Regions from separate parts of the Homo sapiens genome. Here all the other regions are linked to region 1. The links are contacts of gene promoters, found by promoter capture Hi-C in human tissues and cell types (Jung and others, 2019). All regions are on one chromosome and are shown on one strand. The core of a region is centred on a gene start or on the middle of the fragment in contact, and the rest is flanking DNA. Distances in the headings are between cores, read along the strand shown. Region 1 holds the start of CDKN1C (cyclin dependent kinase inhibitor 1C). Region 2 overlaps KCNQ1 (potassium voltage-gated channel subfamily Q member 1). Region 3 overlaps KCNQ1 (potassium voltage-gated channel subfamily Q member 1). Region 4 overlaps KCNQ1 (potassium voltage-gated channel subfamily Q member 1). Region 5 overlaps KCNQ1 (potassium voltage-gated channel subfamily Q member 1).

Region 1 (5,517 bases), core at 240-2,739:
CGCCGCGCAATGTGCTGTGTAAGCATTTCCCCTTGTCCCGCGGCCAAGCCCCCCGGGGCCGCCGCCGCGCTTAACCCCCTCCACGCCGTGCTCACGGCGCCCGGCCGCGCCCGGGGAGGGGCTCCCGCGGCCGGGGGCGAAAACTGCGCTCCCGGGGGGTCGCGGCCGGGATTCAGCCTCCCACCCCGCCCGCGCGAAGCCGCTGGAGGGCACAACAACGGGGCGGGGAGGGGGGTAAGGGCGCAGCCGCGCCCTGAGCGCTGCGGGCCCTTTAATGCCACGGGAGGAGGCGGGAACCCAGCGAGGCCCCCGAGGGCTGGGGGGACCGGCCGGCCGGACAAAGCGGGGCCGGGCCGGGCCGGGGCGGGGCCGTGCGGGGCTCACCGGAGATCAGAGGCCCGGACAGCTTCTTGATCGCCGCGCCGTTGGCGCTGGCGGCCGCGGTGCCGGCCGCGGGACGTCCCGAAATCCCCGAGTGCAGCTGGTCAGCGAGAGGCTCCTGGCCGCGCTGCCCCTGGTTCGCGCCCTGCTCGGCGCTCTCTTGAGGCGCCGCGTCCGGGGCCGGGGCCGGGGCGGGGGCCGGGGCCGGGGCCGGGGCCGGGGCTGGGGCCGGGGCCGCGACTGGAGCCGGGGCCGGAGCCGGAGCCGGAGCCGGGGCCGGGGCCGGGGCCAGGACCGCGACCGCGACCGGAGCCGCGACCGGAGCCGCGACCGGAGCCGGAGCCGGGGCCGGGGCTGGAGCCAGGACCGGGACTGGGGGCGGGGTGGACGCCGGGGCCGGGACCGGGACACTAGGCAGCTGCTCCGGCGCCTCCTCGAGGCCGTCGAGGGACTCAGCGGCCGGCTCGAGGGGCGGGCTGACAGCCACCGCGACCGCGACGGGCCGCGGCGCCAGCAGCAGGCGGCAGCGCCCCACCTGCACCGTCTCGCGGTAGAACGCGGGCACCGAGTCGCTGTCCACTTCGGTCCACTGCAGGCGTCCAGGGCCCCGCAGCGGCATGTCCTGCTGGAAGTCGTAATCCCAGCGGTTCTGGTCCTCGGCGTTCAGCTCGGCCAGGCGGGCCTGCAGCTCGCGGCTCAGCTCCTCGTGGTCCACCGGCCCGAAGAGGCTGCGGCAGGCGCTGGTGCGCACTAGTACTGGGAAGGTCCCACGGGCGACAAGACGCTCCATCGTGGATGTGCTGCGGAGGGACGCGTCGGACATGGCCCGGGGCTGCGCAAACGCGGGCAGCGAGAGAGGAGAGGACAGCGAGAAGAAGGGGAAAGGAGAGGAGGAGAGGGCGGAGGCCGGGCGCAAGGGAGACCCCGCGCCGCCCGACTCTGCGTGTGCGAGGGACGCGGCGGCTACCTGGCTGTCCGGTGGTGGACTCTTCTGCGTCGGGTTCGCCTGTCTCGTCCGGACGGCAGCCGCGCCCCCTCGATGCCTGCTGGCTAGCTCGCTCGCTCAGGCCTGGCCGGCACCCCTCGAGCACAGCGCACTTGGCCTGTGGAACGCCCAGCCCGCCTGCGCCCCCTTTATACGCGCGGGCCCCACCCCCGTGCGCGCGGGCCCGGCCGCGATTAGCATAATGTAGTATTTTCAGTTTCAACAACACCACGGCGATTGGCGGCCGCCCCGCTGCCCCGCCCCGCCGCGGCCCGGCCCCCGCGCACCGCCCATTGGCCGCGCGCACACCCACCGGGGGCGGGGCGGGGCGCGCGGCCGGGGCGCGCGGCTGATTGGCGGCCGCGGGGCGAGCGCGCTGTAGCAGGGGAAGGGGGCGGTGAGCGGGGCGGGGGCGGGAGTTAAAGGGCGCTGCGGGCGGTAACGTGACACCGCGACGCCCGCCCCCTCGCCCCATCCCCCCTGCAACACTCCCCCACCCCCCCGGCTCCCGCCCCCCGCCGGCTCCTTTGTCTGCAGGCGGGGGCCTCAGCCCAGCGCGGCAGGGGCCGGCTCCTGGCGGGTCCGGTGTCCGGCCAGGCCCAACTCGACCCCGGCCCGGTCCGGACCCCGGCGCCCAGCTCCGTCCCGCGCTCGCCCGTGGGCCTCCTGCGCCAGCTGACGAGGCTTGGACCCGCCGCTGCCAGCTCGGCCCTGGCCTGCGCCGGATGGGGTCTTCGGCTGCCCCCGCGCGGCCTGCTGCTGCTGGGCTGGTGTCCCTTCGAGGGCTCCGCGCGCCTGGAGCCCTCACACACCTGCTGGCCCTAAGGCCCTCGAGTCGGGAGGGGGGACAGGGGTCAGCTCCACTCTTTCCCCGAGGGACCATGTGTGGGACACCTTGAGAGACTCCCACCAGCCCCCTGGAGCTGGAGTCTGAAGCCGCTATCTGCGGAGGCCCACCCTGCCCAGTAGATGGAACAGGGGCTGAGCCCATCATGTCACTGTCGGGGGTCCCAGCCCTTCTCAGCCTTGGGCCAGACCACTCCAGCCCCGGGATCTGCCTGTCCAGGCTGGCTGGAAGCTGTTGTACTGGGTAAAAGTGAAAGATCTGCCCGAGGTCATAGGGGAAGGGGCTGTGAAGGACCATGCCCCTCCCCCGCCTGCAGCCCTTCCTGGTACAGACCTCGGTCGTGCGCGCACGCACACACACACACACACACACACGCACGCACACACACGGTGCTTCACCCCAGCCAGGCCAGACCAAAAGAGACCATTATTTCCTGCTGCCTCCCTTTTGGCCCACCTACCATGAGGCAGGGAGCCCCCTCCTCAAACCAGGAGCCTCCCAGATCGGGATGGGGACTGTCAGACACCTGTTGGAGGGTCCAGCAGCCCATGAGATCTAAGCCCCTATCTCAGGTGAGCCTGTGAGCCAGCAGAGAGACCTCTGGGAGGGAGGGAAGGTGCGGTCCCCTGAACCCCAACCAGCCTGCCTTTGAGTCCCAAGACACCCCCACCCCCATGGAATGCTGTGGCAGTGTGCAGCTGCAGCTGGGGGAGCAGGGCGGGTCTTCTGGGTCTCAGGGAAGCGAGATCTGAAGTGAGGGGGGTGAACTGGATGGGACAGGGCGTTAACCCAGGAGAGGGGCCAGGGCCATTCTTGGCTCTTGATGGTGGAACCAAAAGCCATGATTTATGTGCAATTTCATATTCTTCTCTGTGCACAATTTACAAATTTCCCGCAACAAGCCCAGATGTCACAATTTTCATCTTAGGAAAACAAAGAGAAGCTGAAGAAGGCTCCCCAGGCCCTGCGAACCCCTCAAGCAGGGCTCATATCAACTGGCCTGGGGGCAGAAAGAGGCAAAGTCTAGTCTGCTCCATGCCCCTATGCTGCCACCTCCCCAGAGACTAGGAGCAAAGGGCTAGAGTGGGTAGTGACCTAGAGGCCCCCGGATACCCACACTCCAACCATCAGGACTCATTGGCCTTGGTGACACCACTCAGAGGGTGTAGCTGCCATCATCCTGTGTTATAGAAGAGCAGCAGAGACCGCGTCAGCCGCTGAGGCCGCACAGCTGGAAGGAAGCAGGGCTCAGAACTCCCGGGCTGCCTGGCTTTCTGGTTTGGTTTCCACTTAGGTTTCCTACTTTTATTTTTCCACTTTACCAGCTTAATTACAGAGTCAAACCCAGTGCTGTGGGGATTCCTCCGTCTTGGCCTCGTTAGAAGCTGAGAGGTGACCTGCTCTAAGTCTGTCACTCTGAATTCGATCAAAGATGGTACCCAATAGCATTTTAAACCTGCACGTCCCAGGAGCGGGGCTGTGTCCCCCCAGCCCAAGCCAGGGACACACCTGGAGGAAGGCACCCCAGGAGCTGGGGGCTGGGAGTTCCAGGCTCTGAGAGGAGGCCCAATGGGCCCAGAAGCAAGCAAACATCTGTCTAGGTGCAACAATCAAGCTCTATTTTTGTAATTAAAAATGTATCCAAAGGGAAAAAAGAAACAAAAGGAACAATATTTGTACTCTATGTTGCTGCAGAGAGCAGAACTGCGGAGGGGGTGCTAGTCCCAAGGGGTGGACTGTGCTGTGCTAGTGCCCTAAATCCTGCAAGCGCGGGGTTGGGGGGGCGGGGGAGACCGCTGTCGGGGGTCGTGAGTTCCGGGCCCTTGTGTGCATGTTCACGTCCTGTCATTCTTGCCCCCAGCTGAGAGAGCAGTAGAGGAAAGGCACTACATCCACCAGCCTTTGCATTCTCCTCGGAGCACACAGAAAGACATTTTCCAGTTATCTTGCACACAAGTGGGCGGCGGGACCCGTTTTGGCCGGGAACGTTGTCAGGAACGCTGTACACCACTTCCAGGCGGTCACGTCCGAGCTGCCCAGGCAGTCCTTCTGCGCCCTCTGCTGGCCAGATGGAGGCTGCAGACCCTGCGGGGCCATCAGGAGAGAACCACCAAGCACCCTCTGCACACCGCATTGCCTGTGTTGGGCACAAAGAATAAACTTTTATTGCATCTTAACCCACTAGAAATGTAGGCTTGTCCATCACAGTGGGGCGTTACATACCCTAATACATAGGGAAGGCATAGGTAGATTTCAGTTGGCCTTTTACAGACAAGGAAACCAAGGCTTGAGAAGATTCAAACCTTACTGCAGCCATGGCTCACACCTATATACCCTCAGTACTTTGGGAGACCAAGGCAGGTGGCTCGCTTGAGCCCAGGAGTTCCAGACAAGCCTGGGCAACATAGAGAAACCCCATCTCTACGAATATTTTTTAAATTAGCTGGGTGTGGTGGCACGTGTCTGTGGTCCCAGCTACTCGGGAGGCTGAGGTGGGAGGATTGCTTGAGCCCAGGAGGTTGAGGCTATAGTGAGCCGTGATCGTGCCACTACCTCTAGCCTGGACGACAGAGCAAGACGCCCTCTAAAAAAAAAAAAGAAGAAGAAGAAGAAGAAAGAAGAAGAAGAAAAAGAAAAACTTGCTGCCCAAGCAGTTAAGGCAGGATTAACCTGCAGCCCTCACTGCTGTGCGTTCCTTCTAGGAAAGACCCAGAAGCCAGAGAAGCCTAGGTCCCAATCCTGGTGGATCTTCGTGCTGGAATCGTTAAGCCAGCTGTTTCCCAGGGGCCACCCATGGGCCAGTCCTCACCACAACCTCATGGGTGGTCGGTCAATGTCGTAGGCCCGCTTTACAGCCGAGGAGACAGAGGCTTCCAGAGGCAAACACACTGGTCCATGAGTAGCAGAACGAGGGTAGGCCCAGGAAGCCATGTCCTTGGCCACATGTGCTTTCTGGCGGGTGACCTCCACTCCAGTGCCTCCCCGGCTGCCCGAGGCCTCCCCTTCCCGGGTGTGGCAGCTGTACAGCTGCCTTGTCGGCATGTTCATGGCCCCATCAGGAATGTGTGCCGCAGGTGGCTTCACAGGGCTAGGAATGCCCGTCCTAGGTTAGGCCCAATCCCTACCCAGAGCCCCAGGGAACCCAAATTCTGGGACACAGGACACCCGGCCAGTGGGCCAATGGCCCCTATCAGGGAGTGACCAAGGACAGGCCGGGAGCTCTTCTTTCCCCTCTGACCCATGGTGAAACCTGCCTCGGGCCTGTTCCCTGGGTTCTGAGGCCCTGAGCTATCTGTCTTCAAAC
Region 2 (6,189 bases), core at 647-3,146, 210 kb before region 1:
TGTCAAATGATTTCTCAAATAGAGACTGGGCAGAGTAGACCAGTTAGTTAATCAGTTGAAGAGGAAACCAAGATCGATGCCTAGATAAGCATTTCAGAGGACAGCAGGGGAGATGATAATTGATGCAGGTGGCCTCTTGGTCAAGCAGTGAAACCATGCCATACTTCTACAAAAAATGATCCTCTCTGTGGAAGTGCTGCCAACATCCTCTGCCAAGTATAAAAGATGCCCTCAGATGTTACCATATAATGCTTTACAAAAGACAAACCAAAATCCCCTCTGGATTTGTTTTTTTCTAAAACGTGTACATAATTGTAACTCTAACAACTGTTATTGCATATGAGATAAAATAATATTTTAACTACTGTTATTTTTCAAATTAACTTCCCAATCAAATATCTCTATTGTAAAATTTTGGTCTCCGTTTTCAGTGGATTTACTTTAAGAGATCCTCCCTTTCCCCCCATTTCCAGCAGGATTAAAATGTTCATTTATGTTGTGATAGATACTGCCAAATAAGGGCTGTACCATTTACATCACTTTGACTGCACAAATGCACTTTCTTCCCCCACCCTTACCAAGTGTATACTCAGGTTTTTATCTTCATTCATTTCATAGATGAGAAATGGTACACTGGAGCTTTAATTTACATTTCTTTTGTTGGAAATGAGGTTTTTATCTTTCCAAATGCTTAAAATCATTTGTTTTTCTTTCTTGTGAACTATTTCTTCATACCCTTTGGACTTTGTAAAATACCTTGTCTTACTGATTTGTAGAAACTTGCTTTGTCATATTCATTGAAAATATTTTATCCTCATTTTCCTTAGGTGTTTTGGCTTTTTCTATAATATTTTTCTGGTGGCAGAATTTTTTTAATTTCACATAGTCAGCTGTGTCAGTCTTTTATGGTTTGAGGTCCTTATCTTAAATTCTGAAATAACCTCTCATCCTGAAATTGTTTTAATAAATTCTTCCATGTTTTCTTCTATCATTTTTTATTTCATTTTTTACATTTAAATCCTTGCTTTATCGGGATTTTGACAGAGTAATTAAATCCAATTTGGTTTCCCATATATTTGTCCAGTTGTCCAACACTATTTATTTGAGTACATCATCATCTCTCTACTAATTTCAACTGCTACCTTTATCATATTTCAAACTCTCATTTAATTTGTGTCCATTTCTAGACTCTATTCTGGACTGCTGATGGGCCTGTTGATAGGCCAGAGCTCAGTTATTTTAATTATGTAACTTTATGATGCACTTATCTGTGTAGCAGGACTCCCCCTCATCTCCATTACTTAAGAGCCAATAATGGGAAGCTCATTTTCACAAATGCAGTCAACCAGGGGAATTCATGGCATGGCCTAAGATCTAAACACTCTTAAGATTTAAACACAGGATTAGCTCTTGAGTTAGACAGGAAGCTGGGGTGTTTGGGACTGAGGCTTCATCGTGGCAGCTAATAATGTCAGGGAGCATGAGCACTTGTTTCTTCCAAGGCTCACTTCAAGGAAGGCAGAATCCAGGTCGGGGGTGCACAGGAGTTGCCAGCTGGACCCAAGGACCATTTCGTATACATGTATGATCATACTTTCAGGGCATCTTGGAAAAACTGAATTTGCTAACTCAATAGAGAACAAAAGAGCAAATAGGCCTAATTCAAGAATTTTTAAAAACCCGCAATAAGAAACATAATCTAAAACTTGTAGCCCAGCCCCTCCTCCATACCAACCACCAAAAAAACCCACTAACACCATAAAGTGTCATAGCTAGAGCTAGAGTGCTGTTATAAGCTGTGCAGGCCAAAATGGTTTCATGGCATGAGTTGGGCAGCAGCGACTCAGTTTCCATGTCTGAGTTAGGCCACCTGTAACAATGCAGCCCCATCCATGTGAAGCTGGTCCAGAGGACTACAGCTGCCTGTCCCACCCTTGGCTGTGCTCTCCTTTACTAATCCATAGCCAAAGACAGGGGCTAATAACAGGGTCTGGAGTCTGAACTCATATCCTAATTCCACTACTTTCTACCTGCTACACCTTGAGTGAGTCACTTAGTCTCAGTTTCTTTATTTGTAAAATGGGAATCATAAGAGTACCTTCCTCAGAGGGTTGTTAGGAGGATTACACAAATTAATAATATAAAGTATGCAGAAAAGTGCCTGTCCTATAGTAGTGACACAGTGTTACTTAAATGTATTGCTATACCTCATGATGGCCATTCCATCCATTGTAATCATGTGTACCATGCAATTCACAGTGCCTGACAAAGCTGATGGGGAGGCGAGTTGGAATGAATAGTATCAGCATCAGAAAAAATACAAGTGCATCCTCATAAGATTATTTAGGATGCATAGGATCCCAGATTAGATTTTTTTTAAATCAGCCGTTCTCTGTATTCTTGTCCAGATGCTGTGGACAGTGATGATGGGAAAATAGTCCCTGCTGCACACTAGGGCCTGTTAGGCCAGTTGAGGGCTAGAGGAGCACAAGGGGCCAGACTGCTGCTACTTCTGAATTTTATAGGACATGCATTTTTTTCATATAAACTTAGAACTAGCACGCCTAATTTTTTTTTTATTTTTATTTTTTTTGAGGCAGAGTCTCACTTTGTCACCTAGGCGGGAATGCAGTGGCACAGTCTCGGCTTACTGCAACCTCTACCTCCTGGGTTCAAGCAATTCTCCTGCCTTAGCCTCCCTAGTAGCTGGGACTACAGACATCTGCCACCATGACTGGCTAATTTTTTTTTTTATTAGAGACAGGGTTTCACCATGTTGGCCAGGCTGGTCTCAAACTCCTGACCTCAAGTGATCTGCCCGCCTCAGCCTCCTAAAGTGCTGGGATTACGGGCGTGAGCCAATGCACCTGGCCTCAGCTTGCCTAATTAAAAAAAAAAAAAAAAAAAAAGTTGTCTATCTGTGTGTATATTCATATCCCATTGGCATTTGTTATTGAAACTTCATTCAATTTAGATTAACTGATGAAGAATTGCCTTCCCCACCTCAAAAAAAAAGTCTTTCCAGCCACAAATAGAAGCAGTTTACCCACATGTTCAAATCCATTGCAACATCCTTCCATATTTTTTTAGATCTTTGTATGGATTTTGGACATTCTAAAATTCATTTCTGGGTATTTTTAGGAGGACTACTGATTTTTTTTTAATTTGGGCATTTTTTAAAATAAATTTTTATTTTGAGATAATTGTACATTTCTCATGCAGTTCTAAGAAACAACACAGAGAAATCTTACATACTCCTTTACCTAGTCTCCCCCGATAGTAACATCTTGCAAAACTGTAGTACAATATTCTGACCAGGATATTGCATTGATAGTCTCACTACAGGACATTTCTAACTCTTCAAGAATCCCTCATGTCCCCCTTTTATAGCTACCCCCAATTCCCTCCCACCCTACCCTGTCCTTAGCCCCTGACAACTACTAACCTATTCTTCATTTCTTTATCATTCCAAGAAAATTATATAAATGGAACCACATAGCAAATCACCTTTTTGGGATCGGCTCTTTTCACTCAGCACAATTCCCTGAAGATTCACCCAGGTTATTGTGTGTATCCTTGCATTTTGGTATGACCCAATTTGGGTTTGTATTTTTAAAGCTGATGGACACTATTTACTAGTGTTTTCAAGATTGCACTGACCATCATAGGTGAAATAGGTATGTGTTCTTTTATTATGAAAGCCTCCTCAGATGTGGACATTAGTGAAATGTGGGCTCCAAAAAGAGACTTTGGAAGATTTCACTAATGATGTGGTTATTTTTTAAATAGATGCCCCCCAAAAAAGCACCTATGAAAAAATTCTTACATAGCAATTCTACTTCTGAATGCTAAGAGGGTTTGGAAAAAGTCATTTTTGCAGTGTTTGTGTTCTATGAAGAGTGGGTAGAAGGAAGCAGGAGAGTATTCCTGCCTCCCCAGGAGAGAGCTTCACTTTCTCCCTATACCTTCCTGTCCTACCAGCCCACCTGGTTCTCTGTCTCTCTCCAACTGTGACCGTCTTTTCCTTGTAGCTCCCTGCTCACTCCATGTGGAGGATGGCTCTTGGGGCTGGGGTGACTAAAGGCAAAGAATGGGGATCCCTGTGACAGCTCTAGGGGATTTTGGGACCAGATAACCTTAATGGCCTCAGGCTCCCTAGATGAGAAATGGGACTTAGTAAAGTCAAACTGGTCCAGGTTAAGCCAGCCCATGATGCCTGGAAGGAACTTACCCTTTTCTAGAGTAACTTCCCTTTTCAGGAAGTTTCTAGCTTGCTTGCTCACTCGCTCTCCCCACCCCCACCCAACCTCCCCCAACCTATCTCTCCCTCTCTCAGGAGAAGGTGCTCCCTCACCCTTAAAGACCAGGCTGCCGTTGCTTCCCATGTGTCTGTTCCTCTATTCAGTATTGTGGGCACTGATCACACACCAGGGCACTGTGGGGGCCCTGGGACCTGGGAGGACCAGAATGGGTACAGTCCCTGCCTTCTCAGGTTATGGTCATATCATCCATGCTCCCCAAACATCAAGGTACTCCAAAGGAGGCCCAGCACTACCATCTAGGTGGGGAGAAAACACACCGGCCATAATGAACACACGTTTAGGCTGAAGAATAATCTTCAAATGATACTACTACTTACACTTCCTGTTTGCCAGGCAAATATAGACATCATTTCACTAATCCTCACAGCAGCTTTTAACACAAGAATATTATCACTCCTGTTTTATAGATAATCTCCTAAGGGTTGAGGGATTGAGTCTAGGGCCCAGGGTCACAAAGCTAGGGAGCCGTGGATCTGCAGGAGATGTCCCAGCTCATCAAATATTCTTTCAGTATTAAACATATCAAGCTCTCTCCTGACCTTCTCTCCCCTTCCCCAGGCCAGGACTGTCTTATCCTGTGGTTCTTAGCTGAAATGTCCCTTCCTCAGAGGAGCCAATTTCTAAAGCTTAAGACTGGGCTGTAAAAAATCACATACCTCCCCTCCCATTCTTAATGTGTAACTGTGTGTTTATTTGTGGTAAAGGGTTTACTGGCTGGCTCCTTCTATCACATTCAAGGAGCATGAGGGTATAGGCTGGCTGTTTCTATTCAGTGTTTTATCTTCAGTGCTTAATCCATATGGAGCCTGTCACGGACCCTCAGTGAATGTTTGACGAGTGAGTGAGTGAGTGAGTGAGTGAGTGAGTACTTGTGCCCAGGTCAAACCAGGTGCTAGGACCCTGGCAGGGGTTCCATAAGGCTATGCTGGGGTTCAGGCAACCCAAGGCTGGTCTGGAGAGTGTAAGGCTTGAGAGCTCTTCTTCAGGCTCAGTCATCCCTGCTTCCCCAGGGCTCATGTCCACATGCTATTGTCCATAGAAGCTGGGGTCCAAAGTTGACCAGAATATCTCTAGTCATAAAGAATCTCTTCCCCTTGAGCCCACTCATCTCTGTTGACATTCTAGAAATGCAGGGAAATCTGGGCACCATGAAATGCAGTGACTTGCAGTGATCCTCCTGGGGCCTTGTATAGAAGAGACCATCTCAGTTTTGTAGACCAGGAAACTGAGGCTTGGGGATAGCAGATGTTCCCAGACAGAAAATGGTGGCACCTGGAGAGGTGCTCAGGTCTGTGTGGAAGAAAGGACAGGAGTCCTTCTGCCACCCAGACTGTGCATTCAGACATCTCCCTTGTGCTGTGCAGCCTTAGTTCTGCCTCCTGAGAGAGGTGACCTTCTCCCACTTCTTACAGGCAAGGCTCTTGCTAGCCTGAGGACCAGGAGCCTTCAGATTTTCTTGTTCCCAGGATATATCGCACCAACTCAGGAGGGTGTGGGGATGGGCTAGCATTAGGAATGGGTATTAGCATCTGCATTAAAAGGCTCCCACTGACAGCTCATGCATTGTGATGGAACTAGAGGTGAGATACAGAGCAGGAGTCCATGGCACCTCCAGAACCTGTCAGCCTGAGTATGGGCAATGGCGTTTTAGTTTGCAAAACCAGACACATAGAGGCCAGGTTTCCCCCGCTCAACACTAGGCCACTGTGCCTGCCACTGCTGTCTGCAAATGCAGGTTCCTGGGGCTCTGGGTGGTTTGTCCAATGGCTAAGCTTTCCCCAGGAATGGGTAACTGGAAAAATGTAGGAATTACATATGATTCCATCAATGACAGTTTTCCTATTAAAACATAACTTGTTAAAGCATA
Region 3 (5,676 bases), core at 3,086-5,585, 230 kb before region 1:
GGAGAAAGCACGCCCCACAGTCTCCAACACACAAGCCAGCAGACAATAACCTCTCCTCTTGAATTGGAAAAACAAATCTGTGGAGGCCTTCTCTGCCCCTTGTTATAGGGGCCCCATATGCCGTTCCCAGGATTAAACCAAAAAGCACACATTCCTCTCTGGCAGGTGCAGGTCCCACCCACTCTGGGCAGCCAACTGATGTGCACATTTTAATTTCCTAAAACACCAGGACAGAACCTTCCTCAGGGGTCAGGTGGCTCACCCTTGGCCCTCAGGCTTTGGAGATGGGCACTTGTCATCATGGGTGTTTGGAAAGCAACTCTACGTTCTAGCCTGTGCTCCATCGTTCCTTCTACATACAAGTGATGCAAACATCAAAATATGTTTTTTCTTTCTTCCTTCCTTTAAAAAAAATTGAATCCTGGATGAAGTTTTAGCTCTGTCACTTGACAACTGCATTATATAACCTAGGGTACTTGAATCTCAGCCCCAAATCTCTAAAATGGGGGCAGTAACATGCTTCTGCCAGGTCCCAGACCTGTGGGTCTCCAAATCTGCACATTCTTCAAGCCTTACAGGTCCTTCCCTGGTCTCTCTAAGGATGTCATGGGCACAGAGCCCTTTCACTCTGAGCCCTTCTCCTGGCTGTGACTAAGTAATGTCTGTGTGGTTTCCTGCTGGAAGTCTGCCACTCGCCCCCACGGGCCATGAGCTCCTGAGTTTATTTACATTTCCCTGATTGCTAGTCAGGCGCAACACCTTTCCACATGCTCATCAGCCTTTTGGATTCCTCTTTTGTGATGTGCTACTTTGTCTATTGCCCATTTTCTATTAAGTCATTTATATTTTTCCTATTGATTTGTAGGAGTCCTTTGCATTTTGTGGGCACTGTCTTTTCACTCTTTAAGGTGTATTTTGATGATTGGGTCTTAACTCTAATGTCAAATTACTCAGTCTTCTCTCTCATGGTTATTGCTTCTTTTAAAAAAAACCATCCTAATGCTGATGTCATTAAGATATTCTTCTATATTCAGTCATGTGACCTTTATAGTTATGCTTTTCATAGTTAGGTCTTCAATCCCCTAGAATGACAAGAATGAATTTTTGGTATATGATGTGAGGTAATTAAGGGTCCAACTTAATGTTTTTCCAGTGTGGGTATCCAACTGCTCCTGAACATTTGATTGAAAAGTCCATGCTCTTCCCAGGATGTGCAGGCCACCTCTGATACACAGCAAGCTTCCATATTTGTGTGGGCTGTTTCCCAATGCTCAATCCTGTCCCATTGGCCTATTTGTCTCTCCCTGTGTCAATACCACATTGCCCTAATGACCACTGCCTTGGAAGAAGTACTGATGTTTGGTACAGCAAGTTCTCCCACCTTGTTCTTCTTCAAGAATATTGCCAATTCTTGGCTTTTTGCACTTCCAAGTCGCAGTTAGAATCAGCTTGCCAAAGTTCTCACACAGAAGCCTTGAGATTTTTATTAAGATTTGGAGAGATTTATTCAGATTTTGAGATAATCTTTTCAGTATTGAGTCTTCTAGTCATTGGAATGAAGGCATATTTCTCCATTTATATCTTCTTCATTGTCTCTTACTAAAGTTTTACAATTTTCTCCAGAGTTCTTGCATATACTTAGTTAGATAATTAATATTCTTTTGTGCTATTGTATACAGGTTCTGTTTTCTCTTGTTACCTCACATTTTTTATTTACAGAAGAGAAACAAAAATAGTACCGAGTACCCACATCCCTTTCACCAGCTTCCCCTAATGTTAGCATCTTATATAACCATGGTACATTGACCAAAACTAAAAAATTAACATTGGTACACTATTAAGCTAGAGTTATAAATTTATTTGGATTTCCCCAGTTTAACTACTAATGTCCTTTTTCTGTTCCAAGATCCCATCTAGGATCGATCATTACATTTATTGTCATCTCTGATCGGTGACGGGCTTCTCAGTCTTGTTCTTCATTAACTTGACACTTTTGAAGAATACCAGTCAGGTGTCATTGTCCCTCAGTTTGGATTTGTCTGGTGTTTTCTCAGGACTAGACCAGGGTTATAGGTTTAGGGGAAGGAGGCCAGTGAGGTGAGATGCTTTCCTCATTGTGGAACATGACATCAACATGGTTTATCACTGGTAATATTAACCTTGAGCCACTCGTTTAAAGTGGTGTCGGCCAGGCTCCTCCACTGTAAGTGAATAGCTGTTTTTCCCTTTCCATAGCTTAGTCTTTAGAAGCGAGTCACTAAGTATAGCCCACACTCAAGGTGGGGAAGGGAGGGGTTCAACTCTACCTCCTGCAGGAGAGTATCAAAAAAAATCTGCAAATATGTTAAAACTACCACAGCAATTAAAATACATTTCAAGGAAGAAACTGTGAAGTTTCTGAGTTTCACTAACTAATTTCAGCATTCATTCATGGATCGTTTTCCTGCAGCAAATATTACCGTGATGTACTTCTATTTTCCTCATTCCTTCTACATTTTTTATTTGGAATTCCTTTATAAGGAAGATTTGTCCCTCTCCTCCAATTGTTTATTTAATTTTATCAGTGTGGATTTGGGAGTATTTATTTTTTGAGTTATAGTCCAATATTATTTATTTTGTTGCTCAAATTGTTCAAGCTGTGGCCACTGGTGGGTTCATGTGTCCTTTTGATGTGCCCCCCGCCATCCTTTTCATTTATTTTTAAGCATTTCTTTTCTAGCACTTGACAATACTTCAGGCTCATCTTTTATTTTCCCTACCCTAGCCCTAGAATCATCCATTCATCCAGAGAGCCCTGGCTCCCTGGAGAATGAATAGAAAACCTGGATCTAGGCACGGGGTATGCTCGTGGCTACTAGGGTATCATTGCTTCAGTCTCCTCTCAGTGGACAGAGCTAGGAAATATATGTATGTATGTAACCTGAGTACACATACATCTTTACATATCTGTATCTATATAAAGCTAACCATGAGTTCATACTGACATTTCTGACCAGAGTTCATCCTTGCCCCCTCCCCCACAACTTATTTATAGCTTTTTCTCTGACAGCTAGAAACCTGGCTCCCATTACCTACAGTTCATTTACTTATTTGTGTAACCCTATTGTACACGTAGTACCCTATGTGAAGCAAATTTACCTACTAGATTAGAGTGTTTAGGACAGACTTTTGCTTTAACCATAGAGTGTCCAGTCAAAACAGTGTTTTTGAAAGCAACATATGCCAGCTCCTCCTCCTCCTTTCCTTTCACTGCTATGTCATTTGTTTGTAACACGCTCATCATAGTCTGCTTTTCATCGTAGGGTCCTCCAACATCCGGGTTAATTTTTTAAATTTGCATACAGTAAAATCCACTCTTTGAGATTCAGTTCTGTGGGTTTTGACAGATGTCTGGAGTCATGTGTCCACAATCCAGTATCATTCACAGAAGTTCCATACCCCTAAAAATACCCTGGGGTGAGTCTTTTGAAGTCAAGTACTTCTCCCCTAACCACTGGCAGCTATTGATCTGTTTTATGTCCCTGTAGTTTTGTTTTTCTAGAATGTCCTATAAATGGGATCCTATAATATGTATTCTTTTGCATCTGGCTTCTTTCACTGCTTAGCAAAATGCATTTGAGATTCATCCATGTTGTTGCATAAATCATTAGTTAATTTCTTTTTATTGCTGGGTGGTATTCCATTGCATGAATATATACATTTTGTTTATGCATTCACCTGTTGAAGGACATCTTCATTGTTTCCAGTATTTGGTAATTATGAGCAGAGTTACTATACACATTTATGTACAGGTTTTTGCGAACATAAAAATTCAATTCACTTGGGTGGGAAAGGAACCGATAGGTCATGTGGTATGTGTATGTTTAACTTAATAAGAAATTGCTAAACTATTTCCTAAAGTCACTGTGCCATTTTGCATTCCCACCAGTAACATATGAGAGTTCTACATGTTCCACATCCTCAAGAGTGGTTGGTATTGTCAGGTTTTGAATTTTTTTTTTAATTTATGGAATTTCATTGTGATTCTAATTTGCATTTCCATATTTATGTTAATTATGTATCTTTTCATGTGCTTATTTATAATCCATTTTTAAAATTGGATTGTTCACTTTATTGTCAAGTTGTAAGCATTCTTTATATATTCTGAGTGCAAGTCCTTGACCTGATAGGTGATATGCAAATATTCTTTCCAAGTCTGTGCTTTGTCTTTTCATTCCATTAGCAGTGTCTGTTGCACAGCAAAAGCTTTTAATTTTGATAAAGTCCAATTTGTTGATTCTTTTTCTCTTACGAGTTAAACTTTTGGTTTCGTATTTCAGAATTCACTGCCAAATCCAAGGTCCTGGAGATTTTCTCTTATGTTTTCTTCAAGATATTTTATGGTTTTATGTTTTATTTTAGATTTTTTTTCAGTAAGTTTGTATGTAGTACCCTTTAAATTTTCATTTTCTAATTGTTGATCATCTGTCCTATCAGGCATAGATACTAAATGCATTAAAACTTTTACACACATACATATGTATACATACAACACATTCAAATAGTGAAATTAGGAATAAATTTAAGAGAGAATTGTATTACGCTGATGTGGGAAAACCTTCCTTTTTTATAAAGCAAAAGATGTATCACTTTAAAAACATAAAACATTTTCTAGGATAAAAGCAACATAATTCAGGTGAAAAAACAGACTGGGGAAGCTATCTATGCCTCATATAACAAGGAGTTAATGTCTGTAATGTATAGAAAATTCCTACAAAGTGATAAGCAAAAGTGAGCAAAGGACATGAACAGGCAATTCTGCAAGAGGAAACCCAAACAGATGCCAAGCCCATAAAAGGTATTCAACACAGATGGAAATAACAGCAATGCCTCAGTTTTCATCCATGCTTGATAGTCCCTGCAAAAGGTGCTGACAACCTTCATTCGGGCTTCATTCAACACTTCATTCAGGCATGGATGTGGGAAAGCTGGGGGAGCCTGAATTGCTACAACTTCTTGGGAAAGCAATCTAGCAACATTTATTAAAATTACTAAGGACACACCCTCTCACCCTGCTCCAGTATGTCAGCTTTTAAGAATAAAGATGAATATGGCATCATAGTCTGAATAATTAAGCAGCTTAAAACTATAAGAGCCTGAATGTCCATGATATACAGAATGGTTAGCTGTGGCCAATCTAAACTGTGGACTATTATGTAATGACTAAAATAATTAAATCCATGCCTATATACCTAGAGAAAAATGAAATGAGCTTATGTTACAGAGTGACAGGAACAGAGTCACAGTGACATCCCATGTGCATAAAAGCAACTCCCACCTGGCATCTGCTGCTCGGATGAGCAGAGAGGGTGGGCTAGGGATCTAGTTGGCAGTTAACACTGATGACCTTGGGGGAGGAAAGCCATTGTGAATCTTTGAATTATTCCACTTCTCACAGATGAGTACTTAATCCTTTTGCAATAAAATATTTAAATGAAGACAAATATAAGCCAAGAGCAAATACTGATAGTGTCAACAGAGAGTGGGGAGTGATAAGGATCAGTATCCTGAGCTCCTGTGTCAAAGTTGCAGAGGTGGGCCCAGGAATCATAATGTGAAGCCAGCTGTTGGAGGGACTCCTGTGCCTCATTGGGGGTACAACTGGTTGATGTAGCATCGTGTTTTGAGGAAGGAGTT
Region 4 (5,877 bases), core at 1,490-3,989, 130 kb before region 1:
AGAACTGGCCAGGAAAGACCCCTACACAGACCCCCAGCTCTGCAGTCAGCCCTGTCTCCTTGTGTCCCCAGACCTCGGGCGAGGGAGAAGCAAGTTCCCCTCAGGAATGCTGGTGAAGCTGGCATGCCCCCACCCCCTAGCTCACCCTGGGTCCACGCAGGGCCTGCTCCCAGAGTGAATCCCAGAGGTGTGCCTGCCCCACCTGTCCCAGTAAGGGTGGTTGTGTGTGTTGGGTAGATGTGGTGAGGTGTGCTGGTGGGGAGGGTCCCTATCAGATGCCCCTGGGTACCTCCCCAGGCAGGGCCCTCAGCACCTGATGCCAAACCAGGCTCCACTCTTCCTCCAGGTGAGCCCGAGGGCCCAGCTGGGCGTCCACGTGGAGGTGTGGGGCCCGGGTGGGACAAGCCTGGCAACCAGGACCCAGCATGAAACTGCAGGTGCAGGAGCCCCAGCCAGCCTGGAATGTGGGGGCTCAGAGGCCACCCAGAGCCCACAGCAGGGACTCCCCACGCCAGGCCCGGCTGGATCACAGAGCTTCGGGTCCAGCCAGCTGCTGCTGCCCCTCCCTCTGGGCCTCAAGACCATCTGTCACGTGACAGGGGCAGGCTAGGCCTTTCTTGAACTCACTGTGAGCTACAGAGACTGTGTTCTGGCCAGGTGAATGGTGCCCCTGGGGGCCAAGATCCCCACCTCTGGTCTGGCAGCTGGGTGTGCAGGGGCAGCCCCAGACCTCCAGAGTGCCCTCTTCCCCTCTTTGCGGTTGTCACCCTGTCCTTGAGTCTAACTGGGGCTGTGCTGCCTTTGACGTGAGCTATTCAAAATGGCGGGAGGGGCGAGGCCTCTGGAGCAAGGAAAGAGAGTGGTGGCTGTGTCCAGCAAGTCCCTGTTGCCACTGATAGCATAAAAAGTAACTCTGAAACCTGGTGGCCCTACAGTTGACACACATGGGGCCGCAGGAGGAAGGAGGCTCAGGCCAGGCCAAACATCAGAGACCTCAGGTCTGTCTCCTTTACCAAATGGGGGGCTGTTCCGCCAGCACCCCAGTAGGGAGGATGAGAGGATGCCATGATTTCCAGGGTGGTGTCAGAACCTGTCTGCCAGGGCTCTGCAGGGAGGGGTTTGGGGTTGAGATTGGGAGACCTAGAAATCGAGGGGTGTCGGGGGCCTCGGCTGGGGGGCAAGCACAGATGAGGATGGAAGCAGCTCAGTGTCACTCAGTCTGCACTGGGAATGGGGGATCCCAAGGCCAGGGCTCTGCCTGGTGCCAACTGTGTGACCCTGGGCACGCTGCTGAGCCTCTCTGGGCCCCAGTTCCCTTATTCGTACAACGGGAATGATCGAGGAGTTAACATGTGTTTAAAAGCACCGAGGCTTGGCCGGGCGTGCTGCCTCACGCCTGTAATCTCAGCACTTTGGGAGGCCGAGGCGGGCGGATCACGAGGTCAGGAGATCGAGACCACGGCGAAACCCTGTCTCTACTAAAAATACAAAAAAAAAAAAAAAAAAAAAATTGTCCGGGCGCGGTGGCGGGCGCCTGTGGTCCCAGCTACTCAGGAGGCTGAGGCAGGAGAATGGCGTGAACCCAGGAGGCAGAGCTTGCAGTGAGCCAAGATTGCGCCACTGCACTCCAGCCTGGGCAACAGAGCGAGACTCCATCTCAAAAAATATATATATATTAGCTGGATGTGGTGGTGGACGCCTGTAATCCCAGCTACTCAGGAGGCTGAGGCGGGGAAACACTTGAACCCGTGAGTTGAGATCATGCCACTGCACTCCAGCCTGGGCAACAGAGTGAGACTCTGTCTCCAAAAAAAAAAAAATAAAAAGTACAGGGGCTCTACACGGCGCCCTGAGAATTGTGTGTAAATGAGTGAAAATGGGGTGAGAGGGAGGGAGTGGGAACAGCCAAGAGGCCAGGAAGCGGAGCCTGGGTGCAGGGGCATCTTGCTGGTGAAGCTGGGGAGAGACCTGCGCAACCCCACCTGAGTGAGGCACTGTGGGCCCAGAGTCCAGGTCAGCGCCAGGGGCAGCAGGGGCTGGATCTCTGGGGAAGTTGAGGAATGACATGTATTCCAGGGAAGAATTGGGCCGGAGGCTGAAACAGGACGACAGAGCCCTCAGCCCAGGGCGGAGGACATGGGAGACGGGGGTATAGCTGTTGGGCTTGTGGCTGGCCTGGCCTAACCAGTTGGGGGAATCCATGGGAGGCTTTAGCCCTGCTCTGTGAACTGCTGGGCCTTCCTTAGGGGCCCTGGGGAGCCTTCCCAGCAGAATGTCCAGGCTCCTGCTGGCCCAAGCTCCAAGTTCTCTGGCTCCCAGGGTCTGTGTGGAATCCACCGGTTTCACCCCACGTCTTTTCCTCTCCTGCCTGGTAACCCTCTCTGCAGAGGCCCTGGCTGGACCAGTTGCTTTGCAATTCACAAGGCTTTGGAAGGCAGTGCTCACAAATCACTTTTCTAGACGAAGACCAGTAAGAAGCCCATGTCATTCTTCTGAGACATTAGGGGTTTTCTCTCCCTTGTTTTAATCAACCAGTTCCCAATAAGTCATTTCAGTCAGGCCATTACCAATGGCTCATAATCTCCTGGGCTGCTGGGCGAAATGGGATCCCCTGGCTCTTTCACTGAAAACACTTTTCTTGTTTTCTTTCTCCGGCATGCTGGAAGCCGGCCAACTCGCCAGTTCCATTAACTTAATGAGGGCTGACAGCCTGCGACAAACGTCCTCATAATCTCCCCAGGATTTAAACGGGGTCCTCCCCAGCTGCCTGCCTACACCCCAACCTCGAGGCTCTTTACCTCTGTCTGTGCACCCACCCAGCCCCTCCTGGGAAAAAGCCAGGACAAAGATGTATTTCTTCGCTAGCTCCTTCCTGGTGGCTCTGTGCAGGCAGCCTCAGACCTGTAGGCCCTCTGCCCAATTTGGGTCACCCACAGCCCCCGCACCCCACAGCAATTTCTTGGGAGCTGATCATCCCCAAAGCTTGGAACTACAAGGCAGTGACTGGTTTTGCCGGGCTCCGCTCGTCCCTCTGAGCGGAGGGTCACCCTGGTCACCATGAAAACTTTATCCTCATCCACACCTTTCTTTCTCCAACTAGCATGGGAATCAGTTTAGGGTCCTCCCACACCCTCATCCAAACCCTCATCTCCCACCCCCCACTTGCAGAGAAAGCCCCACGCTCTCAGCAGAAACGGACGCCAGCGTTTAGGAGCGGGTGGGCTCCCGGAAGGGGGCTCTATGGGAAAGGGGAGGCAAGGCTGAGCAGCTGCCCAAAGTGAGCATCTGTCCCACGTTCCACCCCCAGGAAACCCTCTCTCCTGACGCGGGGACTTGCGTCTCAGTGCAGAGGGCAGTGGAGGGACAGTGCAGCTCCGAAATGAGCATCTGAGTTCACTGCTGGTGGGCACCATCCCGGCCAACAGGCCACTAGTGTGTTCTCCCTCTTTCAAACGGGGCGGCGACCCTCGTCTGACAGGCGGCTGTTCTGAGAGCGGTGGCTGTCCCAGGGAAGCCCTCGGTGAGCGTAGCGTTACCATGGTTTTTAAATTAAAGCATCTGCAGATGCGCTGTGTCCCTGCAAGGGCAGGCAGATCGGGACCCCAGGGACTGGTCCCCATAGCCAAGGTGTTCAGCCGCCCTGTCCCCTACACAGAGTGCCTCTCCCACTGGCTCAGGGTGAGGGCAAAATGGCACTTGCAGAACATGAGGCCCGGCCAGCTTTGCCCTATTCCCCCCATAGCATGGCTGACCTTCCTCTGAGCCCCTCGTGGATGCCCACACACGGCAAGACGTTTCCTCAAAGATGCTCTTCTGCAAAGCTGCACTTTCTCGGTTGCCGCTGCCACCTTGGCACCTCTCTGGGGTACCTTGTACTGCCCTGTCCTCCCCACGCCCTGAGGGGCCGTCCTAGGCAGCACTCACCCTGGTCATCCCTGTTTCCACCACAAGACTGTTTGTAGCCGAGCTTGGGAGTTGTGTTGTGTAGTGTTGACTTGAGTTGCATCGTGTTGTGTTGACTTGAGCTGAACTGTGCTGAGTGTTACTGAGTTGAGGTGACTGGGTTGATTTTAGCTTCACAGGTGATCTGAACCCAGCTGAGTGGCTTCCATGGAGCTGATCTGAACCCAGCTGAGTGGCTTCCATGGAGCTGATCTGAACCCAGTTGAGTGGCTTCCATGAAGCTGATCCGGACTAAGCTAAACTGAGTTTCATTGAGCAGCTTGTTTAGCTGGTGTGTGCCAGGTGGTCTCTCGGGGGGTCCGATGGGATACCTAGTGTCTTAATCTGTTCAGTCTGCTATAACCAAATACCTTAGACCTGGTGATTCATACTTAGGAATTCATTGTTCTGGAGACTGGGAAGCACAGGGTCAGGGCGCCAGCAGATCTGGTGTCTGGTAAGGGGTCTGTCTGATTCATGGAAGTCAGCGGGCTGTGTCCTCACGTGGCAGAAGAGGCAAAAATAAGGTGCAAACAAGCTCCCTCAGGCCTCCTTTCCAAGGGCACGCATCCTCTTCCTGAAGGCTCTGCCCTCACGGCCGAATCACCTCTCAAATGCGCCATCTCCTAACACCATCAGGGCTGCGGGTTAGCTTTCGACATAGGGACTTTGGGAAGACACACACATTCAGACTACAGCACCTTGCTCCTGGGGAAACAGAGGAAACTGGTTCCTTTCTTTCGGTTCTGGGTTATGTCAAAATGAGTTCCCTTTGCTGAATCTGTTTCAGCCACCTCTCCCGAGGATCCTCGCACAATTTCACTGCCAGCCAGGAAGGTCTGCCCTGGCTGGTCTGGGCTTGAGGACCAGCACGGGATCGTTCTCCTCTGTGGGTCGCTGATATGAAAACAATCTCACAAAGACGTAAGAACCACACATGCTTAGTGTCATGTGTGATGCATCAACCCAGGGGGAGGAGAGAACGTGCATTCACGCAGAACTCTCTCAGCCACAAGCTCTGTTTCTGTTGCATTTGGGCCAGGTTGCGAGGAGCCTGGCAGGCCACCCGGCCAGTGTGGATGTCATTACATGAGCAGTAGGAAGCCATACAGTATCTGAGGCGGGGGAGTCACGAGATCTTCAGTCTGTCCCTCGGAAAGCCCCTCCTGCCGCCACTCAGGGGGATGGGTTGGAAGGGGTGAGGCTGGAGCCCAAATAGGGAGTTCAGAGGCCTCCGTGTCTGCCCAGGGAAGGAGGGAGGCCAGCTTCAGCTGCTGTCCTGAGGGTTCCTGCCTGGGTCCCTGATCCCCCTGAGAAAGGGCTCCCTCCCAGAAAAGGCATGTGCCCTGGGCAGAGCCAGGAAAGCTGGGGATGTCTCAAAGCCTCCCTACCTGCTCTGTGTCCCCTCCCTCTGGAGCCTGCCTCTCTCCCGAGCAAAGTACCTGCCACCTGGGAGTGATCTGGGACAGTCAGATGCACCTTTTGAAGTATACACCTCAGTGGCTTTTGGTATATTCAGAGTCATGCAACTTCACGACTCTCTAACTTTAGAGCATTTTCATCACCCTCAAAATGTCCCTTGCATCCCAGGTACAAAGCCATACCAGGCCCCATGGGGATGGCTTGTGACTGCTGCACATCCTGCCCCTGGACCTTACTCTAGTTCTTCTTTCATCCACTGGTGTATTCCTTTGGCCGGGGACACACACATTTGAGAAACTTCCCAGCTTCCCTCTATCTGAGGCTCACTCCATTACAACACAAGGAACTGAGACATCTGTGGCTGGTTTTTTTTGTTGTTGTTGTTTTTCCAAATTGTATATCTGATAAGGGATGTGTATCCAGAATATACAAAGAGGTCTTACAACTCAATAATGCATTGACCCAATTAAAAAATGGGCAAAGGACTTGAGCAGACATTTCTCCAAAGAGCAG
Region 5 (5,499 bases), core at 385-2,884, 240 kb before region 1:
CATTTCCCTTATAATTACTGATGTTGGGCTTTTTTTTTTAAATATACCTGTTGGCTACTTGTATGTTTTCTTTTGAGAAATATCTATCCATGTCTTTTGCTCACTTTTTATTGGAATTAATTTGTTGTTTACTATTGAGTTATTGGAGTTCCTAGTATATTCTGGTATTAGTACCTTGTCAGATGAGTAGTTTGCAAATATTTTCTCCCATTCAACAGGCTGTCTCTTCACTCTGGTGATTGTTTCCCTTGTTGTGTACAAGCTTTATCATTTAATATAGTCCCATTTGTCTATTTTTGTTTTTGTCTGTGTTTTTGAGGTCTTATCCATAAAATCTTTCCCTAGACCAATGTCCTAAAGTGTTTCCCCAATGTCTCCTTCATTAATAGTGATGTTATAGTTTCATGCCTCATGTTTAAGTCTTTAACCCATCTTGAGTTGATTTTAGTATAGCAAGAGATAGAAACGGTTTCATTTTTCACATGGATATCTTATTTTCCCAGCTCCATTAAGTGAAGAGGGTGCTCTTTTCCCAGTGTATGTTCTTGGCATCTTTGTCAAAAATCAGTTGGCTGTAAATACATGGATTTACTTCCAGGTTCTACTCTGTTCCATTGGTCTATCAGTTTTTATTCCAATACCATGCTGCTTTTAATGCTATAGCCTTATATTTTTAAATCAGGCAGTGTGATGCATCCAACTTTGTTATTTTTGCTCAGAATTGCTGTGGCTATTCCAGCTCTTTTTTGGTTCCATCTGAATTTTAGGATTTTTTCTATTTCCATGAAAAATGGCATTGGTATTTTGAGAGAGACTGCATTGAATCTGTAGATTGCTTTGGGTAGTATGGTCATTTTAATTTTGTTAATTCTCCCAATCCATGAGAATGGGATGTTTTTTGTGTGTTCTTTTCAATTTCTTTCATCAGACTTTTGTAGTTTTCCTTGTTAGAGGTTTCTCACCTCTTTGGTTAAACTCATTCCTAGATTTTTTGTAGTGGTTGTAAAAGATAATGCCTTCTTGATTTCTTTCTCAGCTGGTTCTTTATTGGTATATAGAAATAAGCCTGATTTTTAAATCCTGTAACTGTAATCAATTTATTGATCAGACTGAAGAGTTTTGATTTTTGTATTTCATGGTATGAGTTGTAATATCCCCTTTTTCATTTTTGATTTTATTCATGTAGGTCTTCTCTCTTTTCTTCTTGGATAGTTTAGCCACTGGTTATTTTGTTTCTTTTCAAAAACCGATTTTGCATTTCATTGATCCTTTATATTTATTTAGTTTCTTGTTTAGTTCTGCTCTGATCTTCGTTATTTCTTTCCTTCTACTAATTTTATGTTTAGTATGGTTTGTTCTTGCTTTTCTGGTTCCTTCAGGTGTATCATTAGATTATTTAAGATCTTTTCTACCTTTTTTAATGGAGGCATTTATTACAATAAACTTTCCTCTTAGCATTGCTTTTGCAGTATCCCTTAAGTTTCAGAATGTTGTGCTTCTATTTTCACTTGTTTCAGTAAATTTTTTATTTCTGCCTTAATTTCTTCTTTGACCCATTGGTCATTCAGGAACATGTTAATTTCCATTTATTTATACAGTTTTGAATGCTCCTCTTATTTATTTATAGTTTTATGCTATTGTGGTCTGAGAAGATATGTGATATGAATCCAATTTAAAATATATATATATTTAAAATCATACTTAGTGTCCTAACATATAATGTATCCTGGAGAGTGTTCCATGTACTGATGAGAAGAGTGTATATTCTGCAGCTGTTTTATGAACTGGTCTGTAAATGTCTGTTAGGTCCATTTGGTATAAAGTGCAGTTTAAATCCAATGTTTCTTTGTTAATTTTTTGTCTAGATGATCTGTCTAATACTGGAAATGGAGAATTGAAGTTCCCAAGATTATTGTGTTGAAGTCTACCTTTCCCTTCAGATTTGATGTTTGCCTTATATATCTGGGTGCTTTGGTGTTGGGTGCATATATGTTTAGAATTGTTATATCCTCTTGGTCAATTGATCCCTCTGTCACTATATAATGACTTCGTCTCTTTTTAGTGTTTTTAGCTTAACCTTTGTTTTATCTGATGAAAGTATAGCTACTCCTGTTTGGTTTTTGTTTCCTTTTGCATGTAATATCTTTTCCCATTCCTTTCTTTCAACTATGTGTCTTTACAGGTGAGATGCGTTTCTTGTAGATAGCATTTAGATGGGTCATGTTTTTAAGTCCATTCAGCCAGTCTGTCTTTTAAGTAGAAAGTTTAATCTATTTATATGCAAGGTTATTGTTGATATGTGAGGGCTTATTCCTGTCATTAATTGATTTCTGATTATTTTGTGTGCTTTCATGAAGTTGTCCTTTCACTTCTTCCTGTAAGACTCCCTTAAGCATTTTTTGTAGTGCCAGTGTAGTGGCAATTAATTCCCTGAGCTTTTACTTTTAAGGGAAATACTTTATTTCTCCTTCATTTCTGACGAATATAACTTTGCTAAGTACAGTATTCCTGGCTGGCAGGTTTTTGGTTTTGTTTTTTCTTTCAGCACTCTGCGTATATAATCCCATCCTCCTGGCCTGTAAAGTTTCTGCTGAAAAATCTGTTAGTCTGCAGGTTGTTCCCTTGTAAGTGTCTACAACCTCTTTTATCGCTGGTTTTATGATTCTCTCTTTGTCTTGGGATGGGCAATTTGCTATAATGTGCTGTGGAAAAGACCTTTCTGAATTGTATCTATTTAGGGTTCTGAGATTCCTATATTTGGATCTAAATCTCTTGGGAGATTGGGAAGTGTTCAGGTATTATTTCATTAAATAGGTTTTATAATCTTTTGGTTTGCTCTTCACCTTCTGGGACACTGAAGGTGTCACCTTATGGCATCCTATAGTCACATAGCCTTTGTTCATTCTTTTCTATTTTTTCTATATTTTTGTCTGAGTCATTTCAAAAGACTTATCTTCAAGGTGTGAAATTCTTTCTTCTGCTTGTTGTGGTCTGTTATTGAAGCTTTCAAATATGTTTTTTATTTCATTCAATCTATTATTCAATTCCAGAATATCTGTTTGGTTCTTTTTATATCTATCTCTTGGGCAAATTTCTCATTCATACCCCGAATTGTTTTTTCTGATTTCTTTGTATAGTCTATCAGATCTTCTTTAATATTATATTGAATTTTTCAAGGTTTCATCAATTTCTTTTTCACTGGAATCTGTTGGAGAATTATTGCATTCCTTAGGAGTTGTCATGTTTTGCCTTTTCATGTTTCTTGTGTGCTTACACTGGTATCTGCACATCTGGTGTAACAGTAGTTTCTTCCAATTTTTTGATCTGTCTTTCCTAAGAGAGTCTTGTTCCTGAAGATATATCTATGGTGTTCTTTGGGCAGGGCACTTTGGTTTTGATTCTGGGTGCCTGCAGTAGTGTGATCTCCATGGAATTTTTTTCAGCTGTAAACAGCACCAGTAGTGTCTGGGAGTTCCTCTGTAGTTTAGGATGCAGTTGTTGGTGGAGGCTGTGGTAAAGTCTGGCTGGGGATAGGGACACCAGCTGGGCCAGTCCTCAGGCCCCAGTGGCAGCAGTGGCTGGCCCCGAATGCTTATCCTTGGGCCCAATGGTAGTGTATGCTGGTACCAGTGTTAGCAAGTCCAGGGAAACCAATTTTGGGCCTCCAGGCAACTTGCTCAGGTGCCAATGATGACAGAGCTGGGCCACAGGGTGGGTAGGTCCTTGAGCTCTGAGCAGCAGATATGGCTTGGGCAATGGCAGTAGCAGTGGCAGAACAATCTTCTGCCTCCCAAGGTGTCCATGCTGGTATTGGGATGGCTGGGATAAGCTGGATGAGCTTGTCCCAAGGCCCACAGGTGGCAAATTCAAGTGAATGCCAGTTGTGGTGGTAATGGTCAGTTGGGTAGGGCAGTCCTCAAGCCCCCAGGAGTGCTCAGGTGCCAACAATACTGGATAGGGCAGGGTGATCCCTAGGCCCAGAGATGGTATGCGCTGGCACTGGGAGAAAAGAGGGTGGGACCAGGCCAGGTGGGCCTGTCCTGAGGCCCTCCAGTAATGCAAGAATGTACTGACTGTGGTAGGCAGGCACAGGAAGATCCCTGTATACCCTGCTGAATGCTCATGTTGGGGCAGCAGCAACTCTATTGCAGCCCTACTCCTGGGGAAGTTGAGTGGGATTGCTTTCAGTGGCAGCAGCTATAAACAGGCAGTTGGGCAATGCATGCTTCGGCCCCAGGTGGTGACTATGGGCAGGGTCACCTTTCCTCATGGCAGCCTTGCTTCGGAGGTAGCAGAGTATTGCCAATGGCTCATGCTTTGGCCTGGAGGGAGCAGTCAGGAGTGGCAACCAGCTTTGTGTAAGGGATGTCCATGGGGCTCCAGGGATGAGATAGAGGGATGTGGGGCCCACAGCAGATGCAGTCTGGTGGGGGTTGGGCTATCAAAATGGGACTTTCCTGAAGTTGCCTGAGGATTCAGGGGATGTGTGAATTGCCTGAGGATTCAGGGTGATCTCCCTCTCTGGGAGCTGTTCATTGCCATTTCACAGTCTGTAGGTAGCCTCTTGTTAGTCTCAAGGCATCTATGGGTCAGGGGGTTCTCTGACTAGGATTTCAGGAGTCTGCTGTGGGAATGTGGACCACTAGGGGCTCACTTACTTACCTTTCTGCACATCGAGGAGTCTCTTCATGATCCCAGCCAGTCCCATAGAAGCAGACTGCCTGACTCCCCTCTTATCCCTTGCATTGGGTTTTTCTTATTACTTCTCAGTTGAATTCCAGCATTCTCTCAGAGGCGATCTATATAAACTGTGGTTACCTACTTGCTATATTTTGTGGAGGAGGTGAGTGCCAGATGCCTCTAGTCAGCCATCTTGAAGCCCCTGCTGATATCTGGATAGGGATTTCATAGCATCTGTATATTGCTATAGGTAAATATGATCATTTTAACATTTTTCTTTCAATCCATGAGCATGGGATGTCTCAAAAAATTTTGTAGCCTCTTCAATTACTGTTATCAGTATTTTATAGTTTTCATTGTGGAAATCTTTCACCTCCTTGGTTAAGCTTTGCTTTTTTTTGTAGCTATTGCAAATGGGATTGCTTTCTTCATTTCTCTTTTGGCTAATTTGCTGTTTCACAGAAATGCTACTGATTTTTTGGGGGAGGCAGGGGAGTGCAGACAGGGTCTCACTCTGTTGCCCAGGCTGGGGTGCAATGGTGCAATTTCTGCTCACTGCAACCTTCACCTCCGAGGTTCAAGTGATCCTCCCATCTCAGCCTCCTGAGTAGCTGAACTTCAGGTGCAGGCCACCACGCCCAGCTCATTTTTGTACTGATGAGGTTTTGCCATGTTGCCCAGGACAGTCTCAAACTCCTGGGCTCAAGCAATCCACCCGCCTCATCCTTTCAAAGTGCTGAAATTACAAGCATGAGCCATCATGTCCACACCTACTAATTTTTGTTTGTTGATTTTTTTATCCTGCAACTTTATTGAATT

The links. Contacts are between HindIII fragments. The study calls those that stand out against the background at their distance.
Region 2: a fragment that was not itself captured here is called in contact with the fragment with the promoter of CDKN1C in region 1 in 3 of the 25 tissues and cell types used here (hippocampus, lymphoblastoid cells and mesenchymal stem cells).
Region 3: a fragment that was not itself captured here is called in contact with the fragment with the promoter of CDKN1C in region 1 in 1 of the 25 tissues and cell types used here (hippocampus).
Region 4: a fragment that was not itself captured here is called in contact with the fragment with the promoter of CDKN1C in region 1 in 2 of the 25 tissues and cell types used here (mesendoderm cells and thymus).
Region 5: a contact is called between a fragment that was not itself captured here and the fragment with the promoter of CDKN1C in region 1, in 3 of the 25 tissues and cell types used here (hippocampus, lymphoblastoid cells and mesenchymal stem cells).

What each region holds. Positions count from the first base shown.
Region 1 is chr11:2,884,286-2,889,802 of GRCh38, forward strand. CDKN1C (cyclin dependent kinase inhibitor 1C) reads right to left here and starts at 1,490. Exons shown (of 4, transcript NM_001122630.2): 1 at 1,349-1,490; 2 at 385-1,181. The coding sequence starts at 1,171. SLC67A1-AS (SLC67A1 antisense RNA) reads right to left here. Exons shown (of 3, transcript NR_169305.1): 3 at 3,059-4,350. RefSeq lists enhancers at 480-1,315, 1,316-2,151, 2,152-2,987. The HindIII fragment of the contact is 9,348 bases long and covers 1-4,190 here.
Region 2 is chr11:2,677,319-2,683,507 of GRCh38, forward strand. All of the region lies in intron 11 of KCNQ1 (potassium voltage-gated channel subfamily Q member 1), which reads left to right. KCNQ1OT1 (KCNQ1 opposite strand/antisense transcript 1) reads right to left here. Exons shown (of 1, transcript NR_002728.4): 1 at 1-6,189. Among named protein-coding and RNA genes, the nearest start is that of KCNQ1OT1, 20 kb to the right of the region's middle. The HindIII fragment of the contact is 7,250 bases long and covers 1-5,521 here.
Region 3 is chr11:2,655,787-2,661,462 of GRCh38, forward strand. All of the region lies in intron 10 of KCNQ1 (potassium voltage-gated channel subfamily Q member 1), which reads left to right. KCNQ1OT1 (KCNQ1 opposite strand/antisense transcript 1) reads right to left here. Exons shown (of 1, transcript NR_002728.4): 1 at 1-5,676. Among named protein-coding and RNA genes, the nearest start is that of KCNQ1OT1, 41 kb to the right of the region's middle. The HindIII fragment of the contact is 8,700 bases long and covers 1-5,676 here.
Region 4 is chr11:2,748,154-2,754,030 of GRCh38, forward strand. The region is part of intron 11 of KCNQ1 (potassium voltage-gated channel subfamily Q member 1); the gene reads left to right. Among named protein-coding and RNA genes, the nearest start is that of KCNQ1OT1, 51 kb to the left of the region's middle. The HindIII fragment of the contact is 7,970 bases long and covers 1-5,877 here.
Region 5 is chr11:2,641,366-2,646,864 of GRCh38, forward strand. All of the region lies in intron 10 of KCNQ1 (potassium voltage-gated channel subfamily Q member 1), which reads left to right. It overlaps KCNQ1OT1 (KCNQ1 opposite strand/antisense transcript 1), which reads right to left. Exons shown (of 1, transcript NR_002728.4): 1 at 1-5,499. Among named protein-coding and RNA genes, the nearest start is that of KCNQ1OT1, 56 kb to the right of the region's middle. The HindIII fragment of the contact is 4,799 bases long and covers 1-4,034 here.